Linked DNA regions of Homo sapiens: region 1 is linked to region 2. Evidence: promoter capture Hi-C in human tissues and cell types (Jung and others, 2019). All regions are on one chromosome and are shown on one strand. Each heading gives the region's core, a stretch centred on a gene start or on the middle of the fragment in contact. The rest is flanking DNA. Distances are from core to core; before and after follow the strand shown. Region 1 overlaps WDR76 (WD repeat domain 76). Region 2 holds the start of HYPK (huntingtin interacting protein K).

The links. The method cuts DNA at HindIII sites, captures the fragments that hold promoters and counts their contacts. A contact is called where the count stands out against the background at its distance.
Region 1: a fragment that was not itself captured here is called in contact with the fragment with the promoter of HYPK in region 2 in 1 of the 25 tissues and cell types used here (lymphoblastoid cells).

Annotation. Positions count from the first base shown.
Region 1 is chr15:43,844,096-43,849,117 of GRCh38, forward strand. All of the region lies in intron 8 of WDR76 (WD repeat domain 76), which reads left to right. Among named protein-coding and RNA genes, the nearest start is that of WDR76, 20 kb to the left of the region's middle. The HindIII fragment of the contact is 4,377 bases long and covers 88-4,464 here.
Region 2 is chr15:43,799,349-43,804,638 of GRCh38, forward strand. HYPK (huntingtin interacting protein K) reads left to right here and starts at 1,251. Exons shown (of 4, transcript NM_016400.4): 1 at 1,251-1,436; 2 at 1,784-1,839; 3 at 2,170-2,221; 4 at 2,363-5,079. The coding sequence starts at 1,275. The coding sequence ends at 2,458. SERINC4 (serine incorporator 4) reads right to left here and starts at 872. Exons shown (of 12, transcript NM_001258031.2): 1 at 537-872; 2 at 1-138. The coding sequence starts at 638. SERF2-C15ORF63 (SERF2-C15orf63 readthrough) reads left to right here. Exons shown (of 6, transcript NR_037673.1): 3 at 1,147-1,436; 4 at 1,784-1,839; 5 at 2,170-2,221; 6 at 2,363-3,241. It overlaps MFAP1 (microfibril associated protein 1), which reads right to left. Exons shown (of 9, transcript NM_005926.3): 9 at 5,144-5,290. RefSeq lists enhancers at 1-669, 670-1,370, 1,278-1,527. The HindIII fragment of the contact is 6,811 bases long and covers 1-4,815 here.

The sequences.
Region 1 (5,022 bases), core at 1,026-3,525, 46 kb after region 2:
AGCAAATAGGCTGGAAGAGAATAGGCTAGAGCCATGTGTTTATAAATGTTGCGTGAGACTTACAATTTTGGGCTTTATGATGCTTTATGATTCCAAATTTTAGAAATCTGGAAGAATTTAAATTTGCTTTATAGAACTTTAATATTTTTAGCTTGAATATCATTAACCATCTGGTCATAAATTAACTGCCAGAAAACTTTGTTACACTTTGTGTGATCTTTTCACATATACATTTAAAGTGGCCGGGTGCGGTGGGTCACGCCTGTAATGCCAGCACTTTGAGAGGCTGAGGCGGTCGGATCACCTGAGGTCAGGAGTTCGAGACCAGCCTGGCCAACATGGTGAAACCCCGTCTGTAGTAAAAAAATACAAAAATTAGCTGGGCGTGGTGGTAGGTGCCTGTAATCCCAGCTACTCAGGAGGCTGAGGCAGGAGAATTGCTTGAACCCAGGAGACGGAGGTTGGAGTGAGTCGACACTGTGCCATCCAGCCTGGGTGATAGAGTAAGACTCCGTCTCAAAAAAAAAAAAAGGGCTGGGAGCGGTGGCTCACGCCTGTAATCCCAGCACTTTGGGAGGCCGAGGCGGGTGGATCACGAAGTCAGGAGATCGAGACCGTCCTGGCTAACACAGTGAAACCGCGTCTCTACTAAAAAACCCCATCGCTACTAAAAATGGAACAAATTAGCTAGGCGTGGTGGCAGGTGCCTGTAGTCCCAGCTACTCGGGAGGCTGAAGCAGGAGAATGGCGTGAACCTGGGAGGGGGAGCTTGCAGTGAGCCGAGATCGCACCACTGCACTCCAGCCTGGGCGACAGAGCGAGACTCTGTGTAAAAAAAAAAAAAAAAAAAAAAAAAAAGATCAAAGTTTAGTTTTCTTTTTTTGGAGAGGGAGTCTTGCTCTGTCGCCCAGGCTGGAGTGCAGTGGTGTGATCTCGGCTCACTGCAAGCTCCGCCTCTCAGGTTCACGCCATTCTCTTGCCTCAACCTCCCGAGTAGCTGGGACTACAGGCGCCTGCCACCATGCCTGGCTAATTTTTTCTATTTTTAGTAGAGGTGGGGTTTCCCCATGGTCTTGATCTCCTGACCTCGTGATCTGCCTGCCTTGGCCTCCCAAAGTGCTGGGATTACAGGCATGAGCCACGGCGCCCAGCCCGAAGTTTAGTTTTCTAGTTGTGTTTAAAATATGGTCTGCTATGGTCTGAATGTTTTTGTCTTCCCCAAAATTCATATGTTGAAATACTAATCCCTATGGTATTAGGAGGTAGGACCTTTGGGAGGTGATTAGGTCATGAATAAGATTAGTGCCCTTATAAAAGAAACCCAGGAGAGACCACTGTCCCTTCTACCATATGAGGACACAGCTAGAAGGCACCAACTATGAACCAGAAAGTAGGCCCTTACCAGACACTGAATGAACTGGAAGCTTGATCTTGGTCTTCCTAGTCACCAGGACTGTGAGAAATAAAATGCTGCTGTTGATAAGCCACTCAGTTTATGGTATGTTGTTTTAGCATCCCAAATGGACTAAGAAACAGTTTCTAAGCTGTATCAAAATATCTTCCCAGGGACCTGCTTTGGAATGATTTTAGTTATCTTTGATGAGTCAGAAATAGATACTGAATTCCATTCATTGTGCATATAATTCTGCATGAAATACTGTCTGTTATTACAAAATTGAGAAAAGTCAAGTTAATGTTCTCTGAATTTATTTTCTTATTGGGGAAGAAGACCAAAGACATGAAAAATGCCATAAGGACAATTAATGAAGGTGAAGAAATAGTGGTGACTTGAAGTTGGTTGGGGTTTATAAACAAAATTTGCAAGTTTGAAGACAGAAACCAAGTTCTTATTTTGGGATCATAGATTCTCCCTTATTTTGATAAGATGTGAGTGGGGATAGGAGGTGATAGGATTTAGCAAAGAAAACTGAAGCAAAAAAGTGGGAAGAAGATCAGAATAGTATGTTTTGGAAGCCAAGAGATGAGTTTCAAGGATGGGAGGTTGACAGAGCCTTTTGCAGAGAAGTTAAAAGAATGGAGAAAAGGCCATTGATTTTGAAAATAGGGTACCATGTAGTGAGTTGAGAGAATAGCTTTGACAATGAGGTAAGTAAGGAACAAAGGCTTTAGGAGATTAAGGAAGTATGGGGGTAATGAAAGAACTGGAGAAGCATTGGATAGAGACTTTTTTTTTTTTTTCCCGCCCCTGAGATACGGTCCCACTCTGTTGCCCAGGCTGGAGTGCAGTGGCATGATCATAGCTCACTGCAGCCTCAACTTCCCACGGTCAAGCAATTCTCCACCTCAGCTTCCTGCGTAGCTGGGACTACGGTCATGTGCCACCACACCTGGCTAATTTTTTAACTTTTTGTAGAGATGGGTCTCACTATGTTGCCTAGGCTCATCTCAAACTCCTGAGCTCAAGCACTCCACCTGCTTCAGCCTCCCAAAGTGCTGGGATTACAGGTGTGAGCCACCACACCCATCTGAGACTACTTTTTGAAGAATTTTGCAAAGGAAAAATTGAAAATTAGCATGATTAAATGAAGGTTTTTTTTTGGATGAGTTGATCTGTATAGATTTAAGACATACATAAAAATCCTTTTTTCATATCTTTCATGATGACTCCAAAAATCTGTATTACAGCCGGACGCGGTGGCTCACACCTGTGATCCCAGCACTTTGGGATGCCAAGGTTTGGCGGATCACCTGAGGTCTGGAGTTCAAGACCAGCCTGAACAACATGATGAAATCCCATCTCTACTAAAGATACAAAATTAGCCGGGCATGGTGGCACATGCCTGTAATCCCAGCTACTTGGGAGGCTGAGGCAGGAGATTTGCTTGAACACAGGAGACGGAGGTTGCAGTGAGCCGAGATGGCGCCATTGCACTCCAGCCTGGGAAACAAGAGCAAAACACCACCTCAAAAAAAAAAAAAAAAAAAAAAAATCTGTATTACTAGGTCTCTGTAGTCCAGTATCTCCATCAACCTAATTTTCCAGGACATTTGGCAATCTCATTAACAGATTTAACAAGTCTAAAAGCAATATTACCTTGTCTATCCTGTGCTCACAATTTCCCCAGTTTTTTTAAAAAATGGCTTCATTGAGGTAATAATTTACCTATCATAAAATCCTATTTAAAAAATGTAAAATTCAATGCTTTTTTTTCTTTTTTTTTGAGATGGGAATCTTGCTCTGTCACCCAGGCTGGAGTGCTGTGGTGTGATCCTGGCTCACTGCAATCTCTGCCTCCTGGGTTCAGGTGATTCTCGTGCCTCAGCCTCCTGAGTAGCTGGGATTATAGGCGCTCGCTGCCACACCTGGCTAATTTTTTTTTTTTTGAGACGAGTCTTGCTCTGTTGCCCAGGCTGGCATGCAGTGGCGTGATCTCTGCTCACTGCAGCCTCCGCCTCCTGGGTTCAAGCAGTTCTCTGCCTCAGCCTCCCAAGTGGCTGGGATTACAGGCGTCCGCTACCACACCTGGCTAATTTTTTTGTTTTTTTAGTAGAGATGGGGTTTCACCATCTTGGCCAGGCTGGTCTTGAACTCCTGACCTTGTAATCCACCCGCCTCGGCCTCCCAAAGTGCTGGGTTTACACGAATGAGTCACCGTGCCCAGCCTAATTTTTGTATTTTTTGTAGAGATGAGGCTTCTCCATGTTGGCCAGGCTGATCTGGAACTCCTGACCTCAAGTGATTTTCACCTGCTTCGGCCTCCCAGAGCTGCGATTACAGGCGTGAGCCACTGCACCTGGCCTCAGTGGTTTTTAATAAGTTTACTTAGTTGTTTAATTATCATAGTCTGGTTTTAGAACATTTTCATCATCCCTATAAGATCCCTCATGCTGGCTGGGTGCAGTGGCTCATGCTTGTAATTCCAGGGCTTTGGGAAGTCAAGGCAGGAGGATGGCTTAAGCCCACTAATTTGAGACCTGCCTAGGTGACATAGTGAGATGCCTGTCTCTTAAAAAAAACAAACAAACAAAAAAAAAACTGGATGTAGTGGTGTGTGCCATTAGTCCCAGCTACTCAGGAAGTTGAGCTGGGAATATCACCTGAGCTCAAGGCGGTTGAGGCTGCAGTGAGCCATGATTGTGTCACTGTACTCCAGGCTGGATTGACAGAGTGAGACCCTATCTCAAAAAAAGAAAAAAAATTCACTTACTGCAATAAGAAAGAAGCAGAACCTAATGTAGTATACTTCAAAAACTAGCTACCAAGGAGAGAAACAAATCTGTAGCAGAGCTAGGAGACAGCATAATTTAGCTTCTGCCCTGCCCCGTGTGCAGAATCTATACTGGTAAATTGACCAAATCCTGAGAATTTTCTATATTATCAAAAGTAGAGAGAAGCACATTGGGTATTCCGATTTTTCCTCTTTTCAATGAGGAATGGGGAAATAGTTGCTGGGGTGAAATCAGGAAAAATAGAAGAAGTAGGGACAGTGAGTAGTAGAACTGATTGTCTTCAAAGGAAGTTTTCTTGGCCCACGGGAGTGGTAACACCCTCCACCGCCATACAAGTAGGTGGTATGAATCCTGGTATAAAATAATGAACAAGGCCGGGCGCAGTGGCTCATGCCTGTAATCCCAACACTTTGGGAGGCTGAGGCAGGTGAATCACCTGAGGTCGAGTTCAAGATCAGCCTGACTAACATGGTGAAACCCTGTCTCTACTAAAAATACAAAATTAGCTGGGTATGGTGATGTGCACCTGTAATCCCAGCCACTTGGGAAACTAAGGCAGGAGAATTGCTTGAACCCGGGAGGCAGAGGTTGCAGTGAGCCGGCATTGCACCACTGCACTCCAGCCTGGGCGACAGAGTTGAGACTTTTTTTTTTTTTTTTTTGAGGCCAAAAAAACTGCATTTCAGATTACCTGCTGTCTCAACATGGTGAAACCCCGTCTCCACTAAAAATACAAAAATTAGCCAAGCATGGTGGTGGGTGCCTGTAATCCCAGCGACTCAGGAGGCTGAGACAGGAGAATCGCTTGAACCTGGGAGGTGGAGGTTGCAG
Region 2 (5,290 bases), core at 1-2,500:
TGACAGCAGGAGGCAGCAGATTGCTGAGGCCCCCACATGGAGGAGGATGTAGAACAGGCGGCTGCAAGTGGATGCGGTGAGAGAGGGCCACCTAGAGTGGCAGCAGCTGGCACAAGGAGCAGGCCCACAGCAGCACACCTGGGAGTAGAGCAGATGCAAGGCAGCGAGGTGGAGACTTGCTGAGGAAAGGCATACGTTAATGTATGTGTGAGGTTAACCCAGGAGGTTGAATTCCAAAATTTCCCCTTCCCCTTTCTTCCTTTTACTCAGGTTCTGTTTCAAGCTGATTCCAGCCATTTGGGATTGCCGCCCACTGACAACTTAGTAGGGCTTTCATTATAAGCAGGCTTGAGATATCTGACCTTTCTCTCGACCTAAACACCTGGGGCTGGAAACATGGCGGGAGAGATTTACAGATTATACCTGGGGCAACGAACCAGAACGACATTAGAGGAGAAAAGAGGCCTGTCGTTTTTATTGGCTTCTGCACGTCTTCCTCCCCAGCTTCGGCCACTCTCCCCTTCGCACCCTCTCACCTGACAGAAGGGACTTTTCACTAGGACACTGCTGCCTCCGCTGTGCTGCTGTGCCAGGCCCAGGGAGGTGCCGGGGCTGGGGCCGGCCTTGGCACCCACCATCCTTGTCCCAGGGATTAGGCTTAGGTCCACCAGATGGAAGGCAGATGAGAGCAGCAGTTGCTTCTGTCCTCAGCCCATTGGACTGCCACTGTGTTGGGGCTGAGCACCCGGTCCCGGGCAGAATGGAGACGTCCGGAAGAGAACACTGACCTCCAGGTTGCGGTAAATGCAAATGCCCTGTGAAGGAGCTTTGTCCTTAGGGCCTCAACACTGCGGCCACTCAGGCTGTTCTCTCCAGATTAGGGGGCAGTTTGTCTATCTGGCCCCCTGTGGATTAGCATTCTTTATTGGTTTAGGATTAGACGTCATTCAGGTTGAACGGAGTTCCCTGAGGTGGGTGGGTGCGTGTTTATGTGTTGAGGGGACTATTCCTAGTTTATGAGGTGGTTAAGGATATCGGTGGGGTGGGCTGGAGCGGTGTCGGGTTAGGTCTGAGAGAAGGCCTCGCACAAAACACTGTACAAACCCGAAAGGAAGTCTGAGAGACGAACCGCCTTCCTCCCTGAAGCTTCTAGAACTGGAGCAGAAAGAAGGTGTGGCCCAGGGCCAGCCCCGCCTCCTCCCCGGGCGGAAGCTGTGTCAGTTGCCGGAAGTCGGCGTGAGGTGGGGCTTATGCGGCGGCGTGGTGAAATAGATATGGCGACCGAGGGGGATGTGGAGCTGGAGTTGGAGACTGAGACCAGTGGACCAGAGCGGCCTCCGGAGAAGCCACGGAAACATGACAGCGGTGCGGCGGACTTGGAGCGGGTCACCGACTATGCAGAGGAGAAGGAGATCCAGAGTTCCAATCTGGAGACGGTAAGGTTGGCCAAGAGCATGTCGGGGCGGGCTGAGAGCAGAGGGGGGCTCTGAGGCTGTAGCTGGAAGCCAGCGCTCCAAGACGGGGTTCTGATCCCGTTGGCAGGAGGAGGCAATAGGGTAGAGCCGAGGGAAACAGCGGTCACCGGAGCGCGCCGCTTGCCTAAAGGAGCTTGATAGTGGGCTTAAGGGGACCTCAGGTGCATAGAATGGAATTAAACATAGTCCTTGCTACCTGGTAACACTTGTCATCGTGAATCCATGCATGAACCGCTTGTTTTGTTGGCCTTTTAGATTATTGGGAATTGTGGGTAGCGGTGCAGTAACTAGACCTGCCTTTCCCATAGGCCATGTCTGTGATTGGAGACAGAAGGTCCCGGGAGCAGAAAGCCAAACAGGAGCGGTAAGTCTTCAGGGGCAGCCAACTTTAACAGTTCTTCCCTCCCCGGTCCCCAGACAAAAATAAAAACCATTATTAAGCCTTTATACCGTTCTTCAAATTTATCACCAATTCCTGCAGATCTAGGCGCCACAACTTTACTCTTGTTAGCAGAAGGCCTCCTGGCAACACCTGCTGCCAAGACTCCAGGGGAAAGGAGTATTAGTGGGAGTTTTTATTTTCAATCAAGGGTTTATCAAGATTTATTTACAGGGCACTTCTGGGAATGACCCTTCCTGGGAGTTTATGGTGTTGGTTGAGAATGAGGACTAATATATTTAAATATTTTTGCAGGGAGAAAGAACTGGCAAAAGTCACTATCAAGAAGGAAGATCTGGAGCTAATAGTGAGTGGTAGTGCCTAACTAGTGTATGCGGAGGGGAGGCTATTCTGCTTAATTTGGGTTGTTTCCTGAAACAAGCGGAGTCAGTATATTTGGTGGCACATTAATGCCTGGGAACCTATGTAACATGATTTTTTTCTGCAGATGACTGAGATGGAGATATCTCGAGCAGCAGCAGAACGCAGTTTGCGGGAACACATGGGCAACGTGGTAGAGGCGCTTATTGCCCTAACCAACTGATGCGTGCTTTCTCAAATATACCTACTGGATTAATTTATGGCAATAAAATTTTTTTTTGTCTTTTTCAGTTTTATCATCTTGGGTCAAGTAGAGTGTATACTATATCCTATGTTGTGGAGAATTTATATGTTGGAGACTAACTGAATTTAAGTGACCCATTAAAATCTAGCACACCTGTATGAAAAATCAGTGTAGAAGAATACCTCATGTGCAGATGCTAGGTGGCAGGCCAGTCTCATTCATCTGACTAGCTCTCAACAGTATTCAAGGTACATCTGGAGTCTCAGCAGAGTTACTGTACTCAAATGGCATGTGTCTCCAAGACAGCTTATGAATATCTAAAAGGCCAGCTACCTGCCTAGGAGCCACTATATATATAGATAGATGTAGGTTATGAACCCAGTTCATAGGCCACCTTGAGTTAGAATTTTGGTACCTACAACATGCTTGATTTTGAGTGATTAAAAAAAAATAATTTGGCTGGGTGCTGTGGCTCACACCTCTAATCCCAGCACTTTGGGAGGTCGAGGCAGGTAGATCACGAGGTCAGGAATTCAAGACCAGCCTGGCCAACATGTGAAACCCCGTCTCCACTGAAAATAGAAAAATTAGCTGGGCATGGTGGTGGGCGCCTATAATCCCAGCTATTCTGGAGGCTGAGGCAGGAATCGCTTGAAATTGGAAAGCAGAGGTTGCAGTGAGCTGAGATCACACTACTGTACTACTGTACTCCAGCCTGGGGGAAAGAGTGAAACTCCATCTCAAAAAAAAAAAAAAAAAAAAAAGCCCGGGCACAGTGGCTCACACCTGTAATCCCAGCACTTTGGGAGGCTGAGGCAGTCGGATCATGAGGTCAGGAGTTGAAGACAAGCCTGGCCAACATGGTGAAACCCTGTCTCTACTAAAAATACAAAAAAAATAAAATTAGCCAGGCGTGGTGGTGCATGCCTGTAGTCCCAGCTACTCAGGAGGCTGAAGCAGAAGAATTGCTTGAACCAGGGAGGCGGAAGTTGCAGTGAGCTGAGATTGTGCCACTGTACTCCAGCCTGGGTGACAGAGCGAGACTGTCTCAAAAACAAAACAACAAAAAAGAATTTAGGGGCCAGGCATGGTGGCTCATGCCTGTAATCCCAACACCTTGGGAAGCTGAGGCAAGACGATCACTTGAGCCCAGCAGTTTGAGACCAGCTTGGGCAACACAGTGAGATTTCGTCTCTACCGCGCTCCCCCCACCACCAAAAAAAGAATTTAGGTACCTGAGGGTTAGAACATGGTAAGACTAGAAGATATCAAAGGTTGGGCCAGGTGTGGTGACTCATGCCTGTAACCCCAGCACTTTGGGGAGGCTGGGCTGGGAGGACTGTGTCAGGTCAGGATTTCCAGACCAGCCTGGGCAACATAGCATGACCTTGTCTCTACTAAAATTAAAAAAAAAAAAAGCCAGGCATGGTGGCATGTGCCTGTCTGTGGTCCCAGATACTCTGGAGGCTGAGATGGATTTGCTTGAGCCTGGGAGGTTGAGGCTGCAGTGAGCTGAGATTGTGCTACTGCACTCCAGCCTGGGCGACAGAGCAAGACTGTCTCAAAACGAAAAAAACCTATGAAAGGTTTTGATTGGTATTCAAATTCTAAGCCATAATACATTCTACATGCCATTTCCTATCCTAGAGAGAAGGTAATTTTACTTTAAAGGTTAATCAGGGCCGGGCGTGGTGGCGCATGCCTATAATCCCAGCACTCTGGGAGGCCGAGGCAGGTGGATCACCTGGGATCAGGAGTTTGAGACGAGCCTGGCCAAAATGGTGAAACCCCATCTCTACTAAAAGTACAAAAAAAAATTAGCTGGGTGTGGTGGTGGACGCCTGTAATTCCAGCTACTAGGGAGGCTGAGGCAGGAGAATCTCTTGAACCCAGGAGGTTGCAGTGAGCAGAGATCGCGCCACTGCACTCCAGACTGGGCAACAAGAGTGAAACTCCATCTCAAAAAAAAAAAAAAAAAAAATCAGCTTGGACCAACTCACACATGTTGAACTAGTTTCCTCAACTATAAAACTGTGACGGCCCCAGCTAGGCACAGTGGCTCAACGCCTGTAATCTCAGCACTTTGGGAGGCTGAGGCGGGCGGATCGCGAAGTGAAGATCAAGACCATCCTGGCTAACATGGTGAAACCCCGTCTCTACTAAAAATACAAAAATTAGCCAGGCATGGTGGCAGGCGCCTGTAGTCCCAGCTACTCGGGAGGCTGAGGCACTCTAGCCTGGGCAACAGAGCCGTCTCTTTAAAACAAACAAACAAACAAAAAAAAAACCCTGCAACGGCCCCTGAGTCTGCTGTAAGGACACTCAAATGGCAATTACAGACATTTCTCCAAGAGTTTCAAGGCCTTACCCTCATTCTGACTCTAGGATAATTCTTAGATTGTATCCCACACAACAGTGACTTGTACCTGTGTTCATCTTTATGTATTTACCACCTCATAGTAATTATTTGCATTCATTTTTATCGTACGACACTAAACTATTTGATTCTTCCAGTGGGACATTTAAAGGATGTGAGAAGACCTTGGTCTTCTCAAAAACATCTGTATTTGGTCATGGAATAAATCCAGATGCTACCTAAAGCCAAGCTAGTACCTGAGCTTGTTTCTGAGATCAAAGGGAATTATCAAAATGTGAAACACCTTCTGCCTGACAATTGTTATCTTTTACTTTAATAGGCAATTAATACTTGTCAGCTTGGACATTTTATTTCCAGTATCATGCTAAAAATCTCCTTGTTGTGTGATTCTTTTATTTCTTGACATGCACACATATATGGATCAAAAAGTATGT